Regions from separate parts of the Homo sapiens genome. Here regions 1, 2, 3 and 4 are each linked to region 5. Evidence: promoter capture Hi-C in 16 types of primary human blood cells and fetal thymus (Javierre and others, 2016). All regions are on one chromosome and are shown on one strand. Each heading gives the region's core, a stretch centred on a gene start or on the middle of the fragment in contact. The rest is flanking DNA. Distances are from core to core; before and after follow the strand shown.

Evidence for each region. The method cuts DNA at HindIII sites, captures the fragments that hold promoters and counts their contacts. A CHiCAGO score of 5 or more calls a contact.
Region 1: a contact is called between a fragment that was not itself captured here and the fragment with the promoter of METTL13 in region 5, in 7 of 17 cell types (naive CD4 T cells, fetal thymus, naive B cells and 4 more). The highest score is 9.9, in naive CD4 T cells.
Region 2: a fragment that was not itself captured here is called in contact with the fragment with the promoter of METTL13 in region 5 in 1 of 17 cell types (neutrophils); the score reaches 7.4 in neutrophils.
Region 3: a contact is called between a fragment that was not itself captured here and the fragment with the promoter of METTL13 in region 5, in 1 of 17 cell types (monocytes). The highest score is 5.6, in monocytes.
Region 4: a contact is called between the fragment with the promoter of COP1 here and the fragment with the promoter of METTL13 in region 5, in 7 of 17 cell types (naive B cells, non-activated CD4 T cells, total CD4 T cells and 4 more). The highest score is 13.2, in naive B cells.

Annotation. Positions count from the first base shown.
Region 1 is chr1:175,001,107-175,003,806 of GRCh38, reverse strand. The region is part of intron 1 of CACYBP (calcyclin binding protein); the gene reads right to left. Among named protein-coding and RNA genes, the nearest start is that of CACYBP, 2.5 kb to the right of the region's middle. The HindIII fragment of the contact is 277 bases long and covers 1,293-1,569 here.
Region 2 is chr1:168,237,410-168,240,109 of GRCh38, reverse strand. It overlaps SFT2D2 (SFT2 domain containing 2), which reads right to left. Exons shown (of 8, transcript NM_199344.3): 7 at 950-979. Among named protein-coding and RNA genes, the nearest start is that of SFT2D2, 13 kb to the right of the region's middle. The HindIII fragment of the contact is 2,181 bases long and covers 240-2,420 here.
Region 3 is chr1:167,937,894-167,940,593 of GRCh38, reverse strand. All of the region lies in intron 1 of DCAF6 (DDB1 and CUL4 associated factor 6), which reads right to left. Among named protein-coding and RNA genes, the nearest start is that of MPC2, 2.2 kb to the right of the region's middle. The HindIII fragment of the contact is 1,594 bases long and covers 505-2,098 here.
Region 4 is chr1:176,205,962-176,208,661 of GRCh38, reverse strand. COP1 (COP1 E3 ubiquitin ligase) reads left to right here and starts at 1,376. Exons shown (of 20, transcript NM_022457.7): 1 at 1,376-2,090. The coding sequence starts at 1,684. COP1-DT (COP1 divergent transcript) reads right to left here and starts at 997. Exons shown (of 5, transcript NR_185981.1): 1 at 791-997. RefSeq lists an enhancer at 769-838 and silencers at 1,339-1,548, 1,579-1,938. The HindIII fragment of the contact is 7,879 bases long and covers 1-2,518 here.
Region 5 is chr1:171,780,285-171,782,984 of GRCh38, reverse strand. METTL13 (methyltransferase 13, eEF1A N-terminus and K55) reads right to left here and starts at 1,325. Exons shown (of 8, transcript NM_015935.5): 1 at 865-1,325. The coding sequence starts at 1,017. RefSeq lists enhancers at 979-1,512, 1,342-1,636. The HindIII fragment of the contact is 1,150 bases long and covers 938-2,087 here.

The DNA.
Region 1 (2,700 bases), core at 182-2,681, 3.2 Mb before region 5:
GACAATGTTAGAAAATTATTGAGCCTAAGTTTTTTTTCCCCCAATTACCCTCTGACATACTGCAAATACACAAGATCTTTCCAAACAGCTGTTTCACTTTTCTTACAATAACTTTACACTCTGGCTTGACACTACCAACTTGACCAAAAAAATCTTGTGTCACAGCTTGATATCAAAAGCTCAATTTAAAAAAGTCTTTTAGTGCTTTATAACTCAGAATATCAGACGCACAACAGAGTTTGAAAGCCTGTTTCTTAATAGTCTTATAAAATGCAATAACAGAACTAATTCTTTTCTTTTACTACAAGTCTTTTGTTATCTCATTTAACTCAGATGCCCTAGTTTTGCCTATCTATAACAGATGACATGGTATAAAAAGTTCAACTCTGGCCAGGTGCAGTGGCTCACACCTGTAATCCCAGTACTTTGGGAGGCCAAAGCGGGTGGATCACTTGAGGTTAGGGGTTCGAGACCAACATGACCAACACGGCGAAAGCCCGTCTCTACTTAAAATTCAAAAATTTGCCGGGTGTGGTGGCACGTGCCTGTAATCCCAGCTACTCGGGAAGCTGAGGCAGAAGAATCGCTTGAACCCGGGAGGCAAAGGTTGCAGTGACCCGAGATCGCGCCATTGCACTCCAGCCCGGGCAACAAGAGCAAAACTCGGTCTCCCAAAAAAAAAAAAAAATCAACTCTGCCCAACCCTCTTGTCCACACTCTCGACCCTTCCAAGAACAGCTCATATTACTATGACAAAAAATCTTGCAAACTCATCTTTTGAGCATAGAACCAAAATGTTTCAGTTCAAAGTAATATTTTTATTGTAATGGTTTCAAAAAAACGCTGATTCTACAACTCCTAATTCATAATAAAAATATTGAAATGTAAAATGAAATATATTAAGTCTAAGCAAGAGGTTTTGCTTTTTGACTGAAATAGGAATACTTTATCTAGCAGAATGAGAAAGGTACTTCGAATTAGGCAAGGGATTCCCCCAATGGCTGAATTCCCAAGCCCTCTTTATTGCCAGTTTTGACTCTAAAGTACTCTTTTTATTATGAAGTATCCACTGAAAAAACTTAAAACTGAGACAGTTCCTCAGTTCTGTTATTGGCAGACTTGAAACCAACAAAGGTGATTCCTTTGATGCTTTTTCTGCACAAATACTTTAAGATGTCCTAGTTTCCTATCTAATTTATCATGTAATTTTCCTTGCCTTCTTGGCATGTGTTTGTTTTACGTATATAAAAATTTTATTTCTCTTTTATCCCTACCCATAAGGCATTCAAGCTTTATCTTCCTATTTCCTAATTTTTCACTAGGAGGCATTAACACCAATGTGCCTCAAAAATGGGCAAAGGAATTCAACACACATTTCTCCAAAGACACAGAAATGGACACCAAGAACATTAAAGATGCTCAACATCTTCATCATTGGGTAAACGCATATCAAATTCCCAAGATGCCACTTCACACCCAGTAGGATGGTATCATAAACCGAAAAAGAAAAATAAAACACCCCAGAAAATAACAAATGTTGATAATGATGTGGAGAAACTTTCAGAAGCTTCAAACATTTCTTACAGGAATATGATGCAACCACTCTGGAAACAGTCTAACAGTTTCTCAGAAAGTTACCATATGAACCAGTAATTCCACTCCTAGGTATATACCCCAGAGAACTGAAAACACATCCACACAAAAAACTTGGATACAGTACTCGCAGCAGCATTATTTATGCTAGTCACGAAGTGGAAATAAGGCCAGGCGCCATGGCTCACACCTGTAATCCCAGCACTTTCAGAGGCCGAGGCGGGCGGGCGGATCACTTGAGATCAGGAGTTCGAGACCAGCCTGGCCAACGTGGTGAAACCCCGTCGCTACTAAAAATACAAAAATTAGCCGGGCATGGTGGCGCGCGCCTGTAATCCCAGCTTCTCAGGAGGCTAAGGCAGGAGAATCCTTTGAACCCGGGAGACGGAGATTGCAGTGAGCCGAGATTGCGCCATTGCACTCCAGCCTGGGCGACAGAGCGAGACTCCGTCTCAAACAAAGAAGTGGAAATAAATGTCCATAAACGGATGAAAGGATAAACACAATGTGCCACATGCATATAATAGAATATTATTTAGCCATAAAGAGCATGTGTACTGATACACGCTACACCATGGATGAACTTGAAAATGTTAGTGCTAAGTTGAAGGAGCCAAAAAACAAAAGGCCACATACAGCGTGACTCCATTTATATGAAATGCCTACAATAGGCAAATTCACAGAAAGTACAAGATGAGTAGTTGTCAGGGGCTGAGGGAGGAATGGGAAGCAATTGTTTAAAACACACTACATGGTTTCTTTCTGGAGTGATGAAAATGTCCTGAAACTAGACAGTGGTGATGGCTGCACTACACTGTGAATATATTTAAACAAAAAACAAATACCTGAATTGTACACTTTAAAATGGTTAAAAACTTGAATTTTATCTCAAACAAAACAAAAATCAAGTGCCCTCAAATGTATATTTCTAAGTGCCTAAACTGAGAACGATCTCTACTTTCAAGAGGACTAACACTGAGCTATCCACCTGCAAGACTGTGAAGTTATCTCCTAGGGGCACATAGTACCCAAGACCTACCTTAAAAGACTTGTCACAAGATACCCAGATTAATACTGGAACACACAAACCTCATAGTTTTTCTTCAT
Region 2 (2,700 bases), core at 81-2,580, 3.5 Mb after region 5:
TCCGCCTCCTGGGTTCACGCCATTCTCCTGCCTCAGCCTCCCAAGTAGCTTCGACTACAGGCGCCTGCCACCACGCCCAGCTAATATTTTGTATTTTCAGTAGAGACGGGGTTTCACTGTGTTAGCCAGGATGGTCTCGATCTCCTGACAGCAGGATCCACCCGCCTCGGCCTCCCAAAGTGCTGGGATTACAGGCGTGAGCCACTGCACCTGGCCCAGTACAGTTTTTTTAAAAAGCTTGTTTTTAATTAACAGGTAATGATAAAAAAAAAAAAAAAAGAACAGAAGTTAAATAGTTGCATTAGAACAAAGTCAGAGGCAAAGATCATGCGGCTAATTTTGAGAGGTCCGTCACTGAAAGTGCTTAAAGAGGTATGGAGTATTAGAATTTCAGAGCTAAAAGAGGCCTCTGGAGATGATCTAGACCAACTCAGTCTACTTATCGATGCTTTGAGGCCAGAGGGGTCAAGAGAGCTGCTCGAGGTCACACTGCTAATTAGGAAGCCCTGGTACTGCTTACTCTCCCTTTATAAACTCTTGTGAAACCTTCCCAGCAGTGGGATACTGCAAGAAGCACGAATTGAGATCCCTCCATATCTTACTCAGTGATATGAAATGACATTCACCTTTATAAAAAAAAAAAAAAAAAAAACCCTACTCAAAGCTACGGGTTAAAAGAGTAATAATGTGCATATATGCACCATATATAAGAGTAGAATGTTCACAGCATTGGAAATCAGTGTACCTGGGTAAATATCCATCATTAGTTGTATAATTAGAGTGGGTGGTGGGGTGACCTTTAACTTACTTATCTATAAATGAGATGTATAGTATTTGTCTACTTGACTCAAAAGACTTCAGTAAAGATAAATAAAATAGGCTATACTCTCTGAAAGCAGACTCTGAATTAAAATGACAGAAATCATTATTTCCAAATACACAGTCTTACCTTGCAAATGGTATGAAGGAAAGGCTGTACCTATAATGAAAAACAAAACAAAGGGTCAAATGAGATGAAGGGAGTAGCAGATTATCCAGCAGAATGGGCTTCTGAGCTGTAAGAATACCTGCAGTGATCTATCCAGACCCTCTCCCATACTCAGCCTGGGGGATGAGCATGTGCACACAAAGGCCCACGCATGTGCATGCACGTGTACCCAAACACACACACTATGGCCATGTACAGATAGGCAGCCACAGAAGAAGGGCAAAAGGTTCATGTGGAGATAACCCGTATGACCTCGGCCTCAATGCAGTACTGCTATAACCTTGAACTAGCAACAATCACCTTAAACAGTCAGATTTCAAATACCCAGATGGCACAGAAACTCTATTCTGAAAAAATATCAAATAAAACCCAGAACAGTTGAACCGCACCCCCCTCCTTTATTTATTTATTTATTTTTTTTTTTGAGACAGGGTCGTGCTCGTCACCTAGGCTGCTGGAATATAGTGGCTCAATCATAGCTCACTGCAGCCTTGAATTTCTAGGCTCAAGTCTAGGAAGCTCAAGCAATCCCCCTGCCTCAGCCTCCAGAATTGCTGGGACTACAAGTATGTGCCACCATGCCCGGCTAATTTTTTAATGTTTTTTTTTGTTTGTTTGTTTGTTTTTTTGCAGAGACCCGGTCTTGCTACACTGTCCAGGCTAGTCTCAAACTCCTGGCTTCAAGCAATCCTCCCACCTCAGCCTCCCAAAGTCTTGGCATTACAGTGTGAGCCACCCATACCTGGCACAGTTGAACTCCTAACATTTTATAAATTCTAAACAGAATTTAACTTCTACCTAATTGGGATAAATTTTCTGCTCTGCTCCTATTAATTTTAAAAGAAGAGAAAAGAGAATAAAAAAGAAGAAGAAAAAAATGCTACCAACTACTCTATGAGTGAAAATGTAGTACGTCCAAAGGTATCTTGGTAAATTCCAGTTAGCTCAGCCCTGTCACTTAGAAGGAAACCATATACAAGGAACAGGCTCCATAATGCTAAAGAACCAGGCACTGTGTGTCAGGCAGACTGTAAGTTAGCCCTTAGAAAAGCAAACACAGTCAGAACACATGAGTGTTGAAGGGAATATCACCATTCAGCTGGACCCATATGAATGCTGAACCTCTGAAACTGGATTCAAAATCAGTCTATAAGCAAAGCAAGGTGTGTGTATATAGGTACCAATTTCTGCCCTGGAAGAAAAATCAAAATATAAACAGTCTACCACTCAAATGTGCATGTCATTTAAAAAAAAAAAAAACATACACACACACACACACATAAACACAAACACCAGCATCCTTCTCCATATCTTATACTTAACATGTACAGAAGCTCAATTACTTGTCAACACAGTAAATTCCAAAAGGCAATTTGTAACTATATTTATTCAAAAGTCCAAAATTGCTAAAGGGAGGGATGGGAGTTAAGCTTACAGTCTCAAGATTCATTTCTACCAAATAGGAGTTAACCAATTCTTCAGAACTTTAAAATGTCCACAATCCTCCTTTCTTTACACTGTAGCAAACATTTTTTTCAAAAATAGGTGAGTCACATCTATACTGAAACTGTTCTGGCAGATACCATCCCTTGATAAACTTTGAAAGAACTACAGAAATGTCTTGGAACCTACAGATTCCAACTATGCCACCACCCCTCTCACTCTGAGGTCGTATAGGCTTGAAAGGACCATGAACCTACAGCCCCACTCAT
Region 3 (2,700 bases), core at 52-2,551, 3.8 Mb after region 5:
ACAGTAATTTGAGAAACTATTACATTTAAACATTTAAACCTACAGGTATCTCTGACTTTGATAATTATTCTTTAAAAAAAAAAAAAATTCCAGGAGGCTGAGGTGGGAGGATGGCCTTGAGCCCAGGACGTGGAGGCTGCAGTGAGCCATGAGGGTGCCACTGCACACCAGCCTGGGAGACAGAGCAAAACCCTGCCTCACCCTGCCCCCCGCCTCCCACCAAAAAAAAGAATCCTACATTGAAATTTAGATAGGGCTCACAAAGATTAAAATCCCTGGCCTATCCTCTAAATCCATGCTAGTCTAAAACAACACTCTGTTGGCCCAGGTGAATCTTGTGGATTTGGGAGCTCTAAGTAAACATATCTTTTAATCATAAATAACATCTGGGAAATTATTCATCTTCATTCCCACAACATAATAGGAAGTTTTCTGAAGTATAATTTTCTTTGATGGGAAGAAAGGAGATAATTAATCAGTTTAAGTAAAATCAATTACAAAGCTTGAATATTAACATTGAAAGGGCACATGCTATGGTGAAATAACTGGAAATGTAAAGGCTACAAGAAAAATTTATCTATTTGTTCTATCCCAATTTTACTATTTAGCAGTAATTCACTGCTAAAAAATCTGTAGAAATACAAATAATGAAAATGTATCAGAAAAATACTTAAATCTACAACCCTGTAGATAGACAATCGTAATGTTTAAATATTGAAGTCTTTTAAAAAAGGAATCTATTTCCTTAGGAAAATCCTAACTTGGAATTTGACTTTTAAAAGGAAGGCTTTATAAGTGTACCATACTTTATTTATTTATTTATTTATTTATGACGCAGAGTTTCCCTCTGTCGCCCAGGCTGGAGTGCAGTGGCACAATCTTGGCTCACTGCAACCTCCACTTCCCAAGTTCAAGCTATTCTCCTGCCTCAGCCTCCCAAGGAGCTGAGACTACAGGCGTACGCCACCACTCCCGGCTAATTTTTGTATTTTTAGTAAAGACCAGGGTTTCACCATGTTGGCCAGGCCGGTCTCAAACTCCTGACCTCAAGTGATCACCCACCTTGGCCTCCCAAAGTGCTGGGATTCCAGGCGTAAGCCACCGCGCCCGGCCAAGAGTACTGTACTTTAAAAAGTCATTTTATCTAATAATAAAAATAAAATTAATAATAATGATAAAGTCATTTTATCGCCACACACAAAAAAAGATGGTAATTATGTGACATGATGGATATGTTAATTAACTTGATTGTATATGAAGTTATCAAGTCCTACACCTTAAATATAACAATTTTTAATTGTCAATTATACCCCAATAAAACTGGGAGGGAAAGTCATTTTTTAAAAAAAACCATCACTAATTCAAACATTACCAATGTGGATTTTGCTGCTTCCTGAATGCAAAGCCAGGATTAGCACTGTAGTATAGAAGAGCTGAATAACAGTGTAAAGGTCTACTAAGGGTAAAGGCCAATAAATTAGTTCTTTGCAAACATTTTCAAGTTTCGATACTTTCAAAAAGTATTTTCAAGTACTTAGAAAACCACTTTTAAAGGAAGTCATTCCAAAAATGTCCTATTTTAAGAGTATATATTATCATATCTAAAATATTATTTAAGATAAAGAACTCCCTGTATGTATACATACACATTTGAAAAACTGTAATTCAGGCTTTCTAATATAGTCAGTGAACCCTTCAATTCCCCTAGACCCAATACACAAATTCCATTTCCATTAGGGAGTTGGAGTAGGAGGGGGAAAAGCAGGTATATGGTTTTGTTATATTTTAATTAACTCGTTTGTAGATATAGCTGAAGTAACTGAACCAAAAGAAAACACTAAAATATAGAACTATATACAAGTACTTAAACTGTCCAACTGAGATAAAGGACCAAATTATAAATGTATCCATGCAAAACAATGTTAACGTTTGTTTTATTAAGCTAAAATTAAGTTCTTTCTCCGCAAATAAATTCTAAAAGAAATACTGCACACTTTTTTTGGTAAATAGTTTTAAAAACCAGACTCCAGCTATGTTCAATTTTAAAATGATTAATCACCACTCTAGGTACTTATCCTACAACAAATGCACAGAAGCTTGTAGAATGATGTTCATTAAAATGCTGTAAGGGCGAACGTCTACTTAAAGAAGAAAGGTTGAGTACCCTATGGTACTTCATAATGTTACCTACTATGTAATAATTTAAAAGACAGAATCAATCTATTTTTACTGCCATGGAAAGATCTCCAAAATGTGGAGAAGTGAAAACAATGTTTACAATATGACACCATGCACTCAGGTGTCTCTCTCATACACACACAAACACACACACACCCCAGCATTTGTACATGTACATATGTACTTGTAAGAATGCAAACAAAAAGGTCTGGAAGAATATTCAGAAAACAGAAAATATTATTTCTAAGGGTGGCGGAGTGAAATTGAATGGGAGGGATCAAAGGGATTTTTGCTTCATTTTTATTGAGTTTTTATAAACAAAATGTATTCGTATTTTACTTGAGACACTAAAAAGAATTAAAAAATTGCATGCTAACTTTTCTTAAATAATTTACAAACCAGAACTGTTGGTTGTAATGAGATTTCATTTTCTTCTCTTTACTTGAAATCAAAAACAAATGAGAGCAACAAACACTTTTTAACTAGCAAGTGGCAAAACTGGAAAGAAAAAAATTTTATGAT
Region 4 (2,700 bases), core at 127-2,626, 4.4 Mb before region 5:
TCTCATTTTTTTTTAAATTTTAAAAACCTTTGCCTTCCTTTACCTCCTTGAATACGCACGTAGTTTACTAAGTCATGAGTATTTTCACACTTTATTCCCAAATAAATATATAAGAATCATAGAATGATAGAATTGAAAAGGATAAAATCACACAGTTGTTTCTAACTCCCACCCCTTAGAATGCGGCAAATGAAAAAAATTTTTTTTTTTGAGACAGGGTCTCTGTCTCACAGGCTGGAGTGTAGGGATCTCCGCTCCCTACAGCCTCAACCTCCCCAGCTCAAGCAATCCTCCCATGTCAGCCTCCCGAGTAGCTGGGACTACAGGCCTGCTGCCACCATGCCCAGCTAATTTTTTGTACTTTTTGTAGAGACGGGGTTTCGCTATCTTGCCCAGGCTGGTCTCTAACCTCAGGTTCAGCCTGATCCTCACCTCCAGGCTCAGGTGATCCGACCCCCTAGGCCTCCCAAGGTGCTGCGATGACAGGCATGAGCCACCGCGCCCGCCTATAATCAATTTTCAATATTCTAAAAAAGCCTACCAGAAATTGTATATTTTCTGGTGGTATTAAATGCTAGGTTTCCTTGTTTTGTGCTAGAATTATATCAGATCCACAATAAACCTAGGTTCCGACTGAGCTGGGTCTGATTGAGCAAAATCTGTTTTCCCATTATTGTTATGTTCAATTTGGCAAACAGCTTTTCAAAATATAGGAGTGAAGTCGTGGTCGAACTAATAAAATTGGTAACACTTGCTACAATGTTTGCAATTCGCAGAAAACTTCACTGACTTCATCTTAACTTATTCCTCACAAAGCTGTGGAATCACCATCAGTAGAGCAGGAGTCGTTGGCTCAATGCAGTGCTGTCTGCAACCGCTCGGAGCTTCTAGGTTCTTTCCGTGGGTCTCCAGCTTATGAGCACCTACATTCCGCGATTCGGAAGCACCTGCCTACCCCTCAGAAGAGAGAGACAGCTCCTTCTTCCCGTTCCGGAATGTGGTGCGTTCGCACGCATGCGTGACACGGCTACTCCGCGCTTGCGCCGATATTCTCCGCTTGGGGCGGATACCCTGGGTGACCCGTGAGCGTCCGCGCCCGGCGCGCGCCTGCGCAGTCGCTTTTCGAGAGTTTCCGCCCGCTACGTTCCCGTCTTTCAAACCACCCCACCACCTATACCATTCATTCCAGTCTCCTCAATTCTTTCACTGTATTAAGACGGCCTGCCCTCTGGCACGTTTTCTGGAACGAAAGCGGCTTGGGACAGACAGACTCCCTTCGCCAGGGAGCCCCGACCCCGAGGGCGCGCCCTGAGCGTCTGAGCGCAGCCCCGCTGCGTCCCCAGTTGTATCCCCCGCCACGCCCGCCTCTTCCGCCGCTCGCGCGCGCGCGCACGGCCGGCCACGGCGCGCCGGGGTTGGCTGCTACAGGGACCGCGGTGGCGGCGGCGGCCTCGACAGCGGTAGTGCCTTCTACTCCGCTTTTTTAGTTTCCTCCGCCCCCTCCCGTGGGACGCTGTTGTGTGGCTGCCTTAAAAAAAAACGCAACTTTATTGTTCCTCAGCCCCACCTCCGGCTCGGCGGGCGTCCTCAGGATGCACTGAGGCTGAGGGGAGGGGAGGCGGCGGAGGGTCGAGGTCGCGGTCCCTCTCCTCCGAGCGCCCGGCTGGAGGGGAGGGAGTCACGATGTCTGGTAGCCGCCAGGCCGGGTCGGGCTCCGCTGGGACAAGCCCCGGGTCCTCGGCGGCCTCCTCGGTGACTTCCGCCTCCTCGTCTTTATCCTCTTCCCCGTCGCCGCCTTCCGTGGCGGTTTCGGCGGCAGCGCTGGTGTCCGGCGGGGTGGCCCAGGCCGCCGGCTCGGGCGGCCTCGGGGGCCCGGTGCGGCCTGTGTTGGTGGCGCCCGCCGTATCGGGTAGCGGCGGCGGGGCGGTGTCCACGGGCCTGTCCCGGCACAGCTGCGCGGCCAGGCCCAGCGCCGGCGTAGGAGGCAGCAGCTCCAGCCTAGGCAGCGGCAGCAGGAAGCGACCTCTCCTCGCCCCCCTCTGCAACGGGCTCATCAACTCCTACGAGGACAAAAGCAACGACTTCGTATGGTGGGTTTGAAGAGCACTCCCTCCTTGTCCCTAAATTATGAGTTTCTGCCGCTTAGGCTTGGGGGCGGGGGGTCTGGTGTGGGGGTGGCTTGTTGGAGAGCTTGGGATACTGGTGCTGTGGTGGTGTCTGCAGAGGGAATCGAGCGTTTGCAGGCATTCGAGCTCCTGGTTGGTGGGGTGAAGGAATGTTGGAGTAGCGAGGCAGGGTGGGGATAATAAAGAGGTAGGTAAGTGTTGCTGAGGAGGAAGTGAAGGGAGTTTAACGAATGACGAGGGAAGAGGTGGAAGGTCAAATAAATGGTTTTGGATAACAAAGTTGGCAGAGAGGTTGAGTCTTAAAATTTTTGCCTCTCTGATGAATTGAACACTCAGTCAATCAGGAGTCCTTGTTGAGATGAATGAAATTTGCAAATGGAGAGGACTAAGCTTCCTCGGATGCAGAGGGGTGGAGTTGGTCAAAATTTATTTGAAGTATGGTAGATGATGCTGTAAACATAAGCATGGATGTCTTATAAAGACATGCTTTTTATAATAATGTAAGTACCTATCGTATGTATGTGTAAATATCTTCTTCCATTTCAAAGGATGGGCCACTTAGGAATCGGCTGTT
Region 5 (2,700 bases), core at 76-2,575:
AAGATTGCACATGCACATACACAGCACCCAACATAAGGCTTGGCACATAAAGCTTCCCCACAAATGTTAAGTTTTCTACCTTCCTCCTTCCCTACCTCCAGTACAATCTCACCTATACCAAACCCATTGTTGTACTTATCACGTTTCACTTCTGGAACATGTGCAGGGTTTACGTCTTAATGCTCTTATAGTTTAAGGACTGAGCAGTGCCTGAAACTTGGGGCGCACTCAACGACTATTTGAAAAACAAATTCATACACAAAGTCACACCTGCTGCAGGTTGCACAGGAATGCACAGTGACAGAAGAACATACTTTCAAGATGGGAAGTCACTCTTCAAGTAGGGTTATTAATCCAAGAATGAGCTGGGGTGGGAGGTCTATTATCTGAAAACCTTTAAAGAAATGTTTTTTTTTTTAGACAGGGTCTCACTCTGTCACCCAGGCTGGAGTGCAGTGGCGTGATCATGGCTCACTGCAGCCTCGACCTCCTGGGCTCAAGCGATCCTCCCGCCTAAGCCTCCCGAGTAGCTGGAAATACAGATGCGCGCCACCACGCCCGGCTAATTTTTTCATTTTTTGTAGAGACGAGGTCTCATGTTCCCCAGGCTGGTCTTTAACTCCAGGGCTCAAGCGATCCTCCCACCTCGGTCTCCCAAAGTGTTCGGATTACAGGTGTGAGCCACTGCGCCCGGCCTGAAAGAATATTCTAGTTTGTCTTTTAGCAGGAACAATGCAGGAAATGCTGAAATATGCGTCCAACTAGGGTCCTCCCGCCTGTCACTGTCCACCAAGTGCAAGATTCCTGTTACCAGTTCCCACCTTCCGGAGCACGTACGAAGGGCTACCAACCCGCGCTCCTCACCTTTTCCCTGGGCTTGATATATTTATGTAGCACCCCGCACAGTTCCAGGTAGGTTCCATACCACTCGAAAGCTTTCTTTCCTCGCTGCTGGAAGAACTTCTCCCAATAGTCAACGGAGCCAAACTCCCTGGAACTTTTAGGTAAGAGGTTCATGTTCCTACTGCCGAAGCTGCGTTTTCAAGACTCCCCTATTCCCTGTGAGATACCATTTGAGGAGCTTGCCCACCACACGCAGGCTCCGGGACACTGCAGTGGGAATTCTTTCCACGGAAAAACAGCCACATTGATTTGTTCCCCCACTCCAAACCCCAGGAATGACCCTTACACGACAAACGCACGCATGGACCACTGAATCTCACACACGCTTGCCCCCTCCTCCGCGCCTGCTGTTCCTTCCCCACGTGAAGAGCCCCTCACACTTTTCCCGAACTAGATTTCCGAGCCCATAACCATATCCGGGTGCGAAGCCTCGTGATTCGTCGGCCGGCCCAGCCCAACTCAGCTAGTCATTGGTCGCTGCTTTGCGTTTCTATCACCTCATTGGCTGCGACGTGCTTGCCTTTCTCCGGAGGCTCCGTCGCAGACACCTAAACGCTTTTTTGACCTGAGGCCGGCCGACCATTCACGGAACGGGGCGGGACCGCGGGCCGGAGTTGTGGCGGAAGAGGCCGGGCCTCTGTGAGAACTAGGTCACGTCCGGGTGAGGAGTGAGCGCGGCTGTGCTGTGGTTGGGCCCTCCCTCCAGGCGGGGCGGAGAGCGCGCTTGCTTCCTGGGCTCGGCCTCCGCTTTGTCTTGGAGCCGGCTTAATCACTGACTCCGATCGTGCGCCGCACAAGGGCGGAGCGCGGCAGGCGGGAGCGTACTGGTAGAGGAGGACGAAAAGAAAAACCTATACAGATAGGAGAGAAGTGAGGCAGGAAATGAGTAAAGCCAGTCCGTCGTAAAAACGCTGCACATTCTAACCTTGTCAGCTTCTGCGCACCAGCACCCCCCGCCTTATTTTGCCACCTCTGCACCAAAATATAGGATTCTGCTATCAAAAGTGTAATAACATGAAAACTCCCTCTTCCTTCTCTCCGCAAAGCACAGCATGCAAAACTAGCCTTTCATTTTGATAATTGGCCTCCTTGTGTTATTCTGACGTTATTTATAACTGCTTATTTTATGTGTTTGATAAACATACTGTACTTTCACATGCTCATGCTAATACCCTGAGGAAGCTTCTGTGAAGGGCACTTTTTTTTCAGACAGGGTCTGTCTCTGTCGCCCAGACTGGAGTGCAGTGGTGCAGTCATGGCTCACTGCAGTCTCCACTTTCCAGGGGTCAGGGGATCCTCCCACCTCAGCCTCCCAAGTAGCACGCCACTACCGCTGGCTAATTTTTTTTTTTTTTTTGTAGAAATGGGGTTTCGCCATGTTGTCCGGGCTGTTCTCAAACTCCTGAGCTCAAATGATCATCTCGCCTCACCCTACCAAAGTGCTGGGATGACTGGTGTGAGCCACTATGCTGGCAGGCACTATTTGAAAATGACCAAATATGTGTATCACTGGGCCTTTCATACCATGATAAATTGCAGGAGGAATATACTGATTGCGGAGAGCAGATAGGCTTGGAATTGAGCATGTGTGCTGTGGGCTGTTACATACTACACTACCACAGGTAGATAGCCAGGTAGACTGTTAATAGTTAAGTAGGTTAGATTGGACTTAAACATTGGTTTAAAAAAGTGATTCTCAAACTGGCATGCGTCAGAATCACCTGGAGGACTTGTTAAAACACAGAATTCCCCAGTCCAACCCCTGTTCTAAGTCATTAGTTCAGTGGTGAGGCCCAA